Regions from separate parts of the Homo sapiens genome. Here region 1 is linked to region 2. The links are contacts of gene promoters, found by promoter capture Hi-C in blood cells and fetal thymus (Javierre and others, 2016). All regions are on one chromosome and are shown on one strand. The core of a region is centred on a gene start or on the middle of the fragment in contact, and the rest is flanking DNA. Distances in the headings are between cores, read along the strand shown.

What was found. The method cuts DNA at HindIII sites, captures the fragments that hold promoters and counts their contacts. A CHiCAGO score of 5 or more calls a contact.
Region 1: a fragment that was not itself captured here is called in contact with the fragment with the promoter of KRT2 in region 2 in 6 of 17 cell types (naive CD8 T cells, non-activated CD4 T cells, naive CD4 T cells and 3 more); the score reaches 9.2 in naive CD8 T cells.

The regions. Positions count from the first base shown.
Region 1 is chr12:52,976,727-52,980,417 of GRCh38, forward strand. No RefSeq gene overlaps it. Among named protein-coding and RNA genes, the nearest start is that of EIF4B, 28 kb to the right of the region's middle. The HindIII fragment of the contact is 5,548 bases long and covers 1-3,691 here.
Region 2 is chr12:52,650,493-52,654,301 of GRCh38, forward strand. KRT2 (keratin 2) reads right to left here and starts at 1,719. Exons shown (of 9, transcript NM_000423.3): 1 at 1,066-1,719; 2 at 1-61. The coding sequence starts at 1,650. The HindIII fragment of the contact is 4,749 bases long and covers 1-3,809 here.

The DNA.
Region 1 (3,691 bases), core at 483-2,982, 330 kb after region 2:
ACCAGATGAGGGAGCCATAAGGGATGCAGACAGAGACTCAAAGACAGAGACAAGGGCTGAGGGAGGGGGGATGGAAAGAACTGGGGAGCCAAAGACTGCAGCGGGGAAAGAATGCAGTGTCCATCCTAAAAGAAGGAAAATGGAAGTTTCCCAGGGAGGAGGGTGCCTGATCTTATCTGCTGTTTACATTCCAGAGAGCCCCTGCTTCTGCTTCTCATCTTAATTAGAGAATACTTGAGAAGCCCTGCCGCCGTGCAGAGAGAAAGGAATGCAGGCCCCCACTAAACCCCAGCCTGCCCCCCTCACCCCTGACCTCCTGCTGGCTATGTGGTGGGACTGATGGGAGTCTGGGTTCTGGATCCATTTTCTGTTTTCTGTTTTTTTGTCTACAGTGGGCTGATCCATTAAGCTGGATTCCTTGAGAGAGTATGTGAGAGGGTCTGGGAACTGTCAGGGCTCCACTCCTGCAGGAAACAAACAAACAAACAAACAAACAAAATTAAAAAGTATTAGAAAGAGCCACTGAGAGGAACAGCTGAGATTCTCTCAGTCAGTCTGCCATTCACCCCCTCAAACATCGCCCTCACTCCACCACCATAATGTCCAGGCAGGGTGCTGACACTTCACCGTTCACCTCCCACCCTGCCCCGGGCTGTCCTCCAAATGTGTGTCAGACACAGTGCTGGGGGACTTATACTTCTGTCATAGTCTCTGTCTTCAGTAGCATATGGTAAGAGCCAGGATCCGCTATTAAACATGCTGTGAGTGGGTAGAGACAAAGTCTTGTCTTGTAGGGTGAGCAGGCAGTGAGGTCAGAAAGGGCATCACAGGTAGAGGAAAAAGCATGGGCAGAGGTCTGGAACCCAGTCCCTCTTCATACCACCCGCTGACCCTTTCCCCTCCCCCCCACATGAGATTTCTCCCCCTCTCTTCTCTCTTCTCTCCCTCAACAATTCCAGGGTTGCCCACCTGAAAACAAGCTCCCTGGACCACCTTCCCTTGCAGCTCTCTGTTCCTTCTCTCTTTTTTTTTTTTTTTTTTTTTTGAGACGGAATCTCACTCTGTCACCCAGGCAGGAGTGCAATGGTGTGATCTCAGCTCACTGCAGCCTCTGCCTCCCAGGTTCAAGTGATTCTCCTACCTCAGCCTCACGAGTAGCTGGGATTACAGGTGCCCACCACCACACCCAGCTAATTTTTGTATTTTTACTAGAGATGGTGTTTCACCACATTGGCCAGGCTGGTCTCGAACTCCTGACCTCAGGTGATCCACCCGCCTCAGCCTTCCAAAGTGCTGGGATTACAGGCGTGAGCCACTGCGCCTGGCCAGCTCTCTGTTCCTTCTCATAGCTAAGCATCTTACATCATTCTCTCTCGTTTTGTTGTTGTTTTGTTGTTGTTGTTGTTGTTGTTGTTGTTGTTGTTTGAGACAGAGTTTTGCTCTTGTTGCCCAGGCTGGAGTGCAGTGGCGCGATCTCGGCTCACTGCAACCTCCACTTCCAGGGTTCAAGTGATTCTCCTGCCTCTGCCTCCCAAGTAGCTGGGATTATAGGCATGCGCCACCACACCTGGCTAATTTTGTATTTTTAGTGGAGATGGGGTTTTATCATGTTGGTCAGGCTGGTCTCAAACTCCTGACCTCAGGTGATCCACTTGCCTCGGCTTCCCAAAGTGCTGGGGTTACAGGCTTGAGTCACTGCATCTGGCCTTACATTATTCTCAAAAGAGGTCTACACACAGGCTTTCCCCTTCCTCACCCAGTTCACTCTTCAGCCCCTCCAGGCTGGCTCAGCTCGTATGGCTCCTCAGAAGCTGCACTAGCCAAGGTTCCCAGAGACCTCCATGTTGTTGAAATCGATGGACACTTGACATTCCTTTTGTTCCTTGACCACTTAGCTTCCAGCAGCTGCATGCTCCCTCCTTCTTTTTTTTTTTTTTTTTTTTTTGAGATGGAGTTTCACTCTTGTTGCCCAAGCTGGAGTCCAGTGGCATGATCTTGGCTCACTGCAACCTCCATCTCCCAGGTTCAAGCGATTCTCTTGCCTCAGCCTTCCAAGTAGCTGGGATTATAGGCGTGTGCCACCACACCTGGCTAATTTTTTGTATTTTTAGTAGAGACAGGGTTTCACCATGTTAGCCAGGCTGGTCTCGAACTCCTGACCTCAGGTGATCCACCTGCCTCGGCCTCCCAAAGTGCTGGGATTACAGGCATGAGCCACAGCACCCAGCCTCTCCCTCCTTCTTGAAACACTCTCCTTCCTAGTCTCCCAGACACCTCGTGCCAGGCTTTTCTCTAGTTATAGTTTCTCGGTCCCTTTTCCCCACTCACCCTCCTTGACATGGTCTGTAACTTGATGTTTCTGATCTATAAATTGACCTGATATAAAGTTGATGTTCCTCAGGGCTGGGTCCTGGCCCCTATTCTCTTATTAATAGGGACTATTTTCTTGAGTCATCTCATACCTTGCCCTGGTTTTAATTGCATCTTCTATAGACCAAAGACTTCCAGATTGTGATGTCCAACCAGACCTTTCTTGTGAGCTCCAGAGCAGCCTATGGAATATTCTACTTAATGCCTCTTTTTAGATGACTCTTAGGCATCTCAAATTTAACCTGTTCAAAACTGGATTATTGATCTTAGCTCCCACCAGCTTCATAATTCTTGTTCATCTTAGTAAATGACACACCATCCATCTAATTGCTTGTGCCAGAAACCTGGGAATCATATTTGACACCTCCTTCTCTCTTGGTCTACCCTATGGATCTAATAAATTAATAACCCTACTTCCACAGTAAGTCCAAATCTATTCCTTTCTCCCCATCCACACCCCACATCCAGGCTGTAGGCATCTGTCCTCTGTACTATCACTGCAACATCTTCCTAACAGAAAGTCTTCTCATGGCCACCAGTAACCACTCAGCCTTCCTCCACACACCAGCCAACATGGTCTTCTTTAAAAATAAATCTCAGCCGGGCTTGGTGGCTCACACCTGTAATCCCAGCCAAAGTGGGCGGATCACCTGAGGTCAGGAGTTCAAAACCAGCCTGGCCAATGTGGCAAAACCCCATCTCTACCAAAAAAAAAAAAAAAATTAGCCGGGCATGGTGGCAGGTGCCCATAGTCCCAGCTACTCAGGAGGCTGAGGCAGGAGAATCACTTGAACCCAAGAGGCAGAGGGTGCAGTGAACCAAGATGGTGCCACTACTCTCCAGCCTGGGTGACAGAGCAAGACTCCATCTCAAAAAAATAAATAAATAAAAATAAAAATAAATGTGTGCCAGGCCCAGTGGTCCCAGCTACTTGGGAGACTGAGGTGGGAGAATCTCTTGAGCCCAGAAGTTTGAGACCAGCCTGGGCAACAGAGCAAGACCACCTCTAAAAAATATATAAATAAATAATAAATAGATAAAACTAGATCTCATAATATCCCTCACCTACTTAAAACCCTTCCGTGACCCAGGAAGCATCCAGACTCCATGGCCAGTGCCCTGACTCTGTGTTCCAGCTCCTCTTTTTGCAGTCTCCCCTGCTGACCAGCCTCCAGCCACACCATTCACTCCACACACACACTCCTCCCTTAGCTCCCTCCCACCTCCTCATCAGCGATCTCTCCCTCACCTTCCGAGGCTCTGGCTAAATGCTCTGGTATACAGAAGGAGCTTGATGAGTATGGGGAAGGTATGGGAACAG
Region 2 (3,809 bases), core at 469-2,968:
TTTGTTGTAGCAGCTCCCATTTGGTCTGTAACACCTGGTTCTGCTGCTCCAAGAACCGCACCTGCCATGACCAGAAGGAGAGCACATGAGTTCTAGATCATCCTTCACACCAAGCAAGCCACGCTGGCCAGGGGCAGCTCAGGTGCTGCTTCAGGACCTCGAGAAGTGTCTGAGGCTGGATGCCGAGTCATGACTGGCAGAGCTTCTGAGCTCCCTGCTTTCGCCCCTGGAAAGTCCCACAGACTCCTAATGCTACATCCGGCTCTCTCCACGCAGAGGAGACTCTTTGCTGCTTCACTGCTCACTGGTTTGTTTGCAGCTGCTCCCAATACTCTAGACCATTTCCCTCCCCGCATCCTGGTTGAATTTCCAGCCAAGATCCCATAAATTCTGGGGAAAACCGAAAGCAGCCATCTGCTGGCACTGCTCGCAAGGGTGCTGAGTATGAGAGTCCCAGAGGGCAGGGCTCCTCAGCCTGATTTTTAAGAGCCTTGTAAATCCCTGCCTATTTCAAGGCAGATAAACCAAGACAGGTTCGTCTGCCTTGAAATAGGAGAAAAGCCAGTAACACTCCGAAGTGACACCAATAAAGACTTTATGGATCACAAAACTGAGAACGCTTCTCTTGAAGGCAGGAATTTCCTGCATTCCCAAGCAGATATTTCAGGTTCAGCTTCCCAGAGTTTAGTAATCACTGCTAAGGAAGGAAACACTATCTCAGAAGACGATGGCTTCCAAAACCTGCTGCTCCAGTGGCCTGTCCCAAGGATCAGTTCAATACTTGCCTATATCCATTTTTTATGGTTTTCAGAATTTTCCATAAATATTATTTATATGGACTGTAACAATAAGGTCAAAGGGACAAATGCTTCCTAAGTGCAGGCTGTTATGGGAAATGTAACCCACAAAGCTGGCGTCTTTTCCATCTGGAAACCGCAAATGACCCAGGCTACTGCGGTACACCACTGGCTCCTAAGAAATACAAATCTGTGCCATTTTCTTTTTGGTTGGCTCTGGAAGTGAAGTGGCCTGAGCATCAGTGGGAGCCGTCTTCTCCAGAGTCACCTTGTCAATGAAGGAGGCAAATTTGTTGTTGAGAGTTTTGATCTGCTCACGCTCTTGGGCCTTCACATTCTGGATCTCTGGGTCAACTTTCACGTTGAGAGGCTGCAGGAGGCTCTGGTTGACAGAGACTTCGTGGATGCCACCAGGGTATCCTCCAGGCCCAAAGCCACCAGGACCCCCTAAACCTCCAACACCACCAGGGCCCCCAAAACCTCCAAAGCGGCCTCCACCAAAGCCGCCTCCACCGAAACCACCACCACTGAAGCCGCTGCCACCTCCAAAGCTGCTGCCGCCTCCAAAACCACCTCCTCTGCCACCAAATCCACCAGCGGCGCCAAAGCCACCACCTCCTCCAGCCACACTAATGGAGATGCTCTTGGTCCCTCCAAGGCCAACAAGACTCCGACTGCCAAAGCCGCCTCCACCGAAGCCCCCGCCACCACCACCATGGCGGCTCAAGCAGGAGAAGCTGGAAGTTGATCTCCGGCTTCCACCAGACACCACAGCTGAGCCGCTGCTGAAGCCCCGGAATCCTCCTCCACCTCCTCCTCTTCCTCGAGATTTGCAAGAGATCTGACAACTCATGATGCCTTTGTCCAGGGAGGAAAGTCACAGGCTCTTGAGAAGAGTCAAGGCTGGAGACTCAACTGTGCTGCTGGGAGGCTTTCAGGGTCCCCTTATATACCTGCCAACTAGGTGTTGTGTACATGGGTGTGGATCCACTTATACGTGGGTTTGGTCTGCCTGGGAGCTATTCCTGGTGCGTGATTATCAAGCTAATAGCCATTAAAAATCTACTAATCAGCTCCATCCCAGAACTTGCTTTGATTGCAAACTTCTGTTTATCTGGGCATCTGTCATGCAATTTGATTTTTGTAAAATCATCAAAAGAGGAGATCAGGGTTTGGGTTTCTCAATCTGGAAAAGGACCTTCTGCAGAATGCTGCTCCCTGTTCTGGACCTGCCCAAGGGAAGTCAGCTACCACCCATGCTTGTGCAGGCTCACCACCCCAGTTCAACAATGAAAGGGATGGTGGGTTTAGAGACTGCAAGAGCCCCTCAATGCCAGCCTTGTAGTTCTCTTGTAGTTTCCCTCTTTCCCAGAAAGAGCCCCAACTAGTGCAGGGGAGACTGCAAAGGTCTTAAATGACCTTAAATGCTAATTGGAAATCGACCTCCTCTTACAGAAAGTAATTGGCCTCGGATACTGCAAAAGAGGTGTCGATTTTCAAAATATCTTGGCTCTTTTCTTCCCATGCCACACCAAAAATACACAATAACTAGGCACCGAATAGAGATTTTTTATAACCATGATGGTTTGTATAACCATCAACTGTCCCTTGTCTACATGAACACCCAGAGGTTGAGAGGTATGAGAAAAGTTTCGCTGTTTCTGGACCTGTGTGATGCGGGACACCAAGTGAAAGTTTGCAAACCAAGATCCAAGTGTATATTGATTCAGTCAGTCAGTAATCACGTATTGCCTGGTGATCCTGGGAAGTGATTAGGAAGTCAGGCTCTTCAATGACATCCACAGATGCTTGAGGATAAGAAGACCATCCAGCCTGCACAGAGCACTCACACTTAAACTCAACCACTTCCTCTGTCCATGTGGCCAACTATGTGGGAGAGGTTCTTGGAGTAATAAAACTGAATTTAGTCAGAAATTCTGGGTTTGAGTCCCAGTTTTGCTATTTATTGGCTGTGAGGCCTTGAATGAAACCCTGAGGCTCTGTGGTCCCAGCTATAAAATGGGAAATTCGTATGAAGTGTTTTGAAAACCACCGTGCACAATAAAATGTCAGTATCATTATTGTTTGGGGTGAGACAAAGATAATTCCTTTTCCTTTCCCCCTTGCCATGTTACTGTCTTCTGGCTACTATGAACATGCACTCTCCACAGGCATCATAAATTACAGAACCAGGTGGTTCAGATCCTAGTACCAAGTTATCACAAAATAATGTAAAAAACATAAGTTTGAGGTCAAATCCCAATTTTCTTGTATCTTAGTTAAATGACCTCAGATAATCCATAATCCTCTTCAAGCCTCAGTTTCCTCATCTATAAAAAGTGAACAAGAATAATAAGAATATGGCTACTGTGAAAACAGAACAATACACACATGTGCTAAACACAGTTCCTAGTTCATAGCAGAAACTCAATAAATGCTATTCACCCTTCTGCATCTTCCCCGCCAAGTTTCCAATCCTGTCTTAACTACTATTCAAGGTATTTAATTTGCAGTAAAAGAATGCTGAAGGAAACAAAGCTACATGTCTCCTCAATTATTTTTTCCAATCTGGTTTGCATAATTATAATCATGCAAACAAATCATGAAGCTAACAGCTTTGGAGACAGTCTCAATCCAAAGCAAAATGTGTCATTATCTACAGATATCTGAGCAATGCCCTAGTCGTCCCTTACTCCACCATGACTGTGCTCACACTATGGCAGCTTCAGGGGGGTCTTAATGCCTCTATGAAGGAAATTGAGCCAGATTTGTGCTAGGCACCCAATCTGCATGTTTTACTGCATTTTAATTCTGCCCTCACACCCTGGTCTCCCTCCCCACTCTCTCCACTGAACATCTTCTCCTTCTAGACCCATTCACCAATTTTTGAAAGTCAAGTTGAAAGAGTCCTCCTACTCTTTTGAAATGTGGAGACTAGAATTAATGCAATTTGAATATTATGTAACATTTTATTTCTATATTTTTAAATTTTCAACTTTTACATAATCTCAA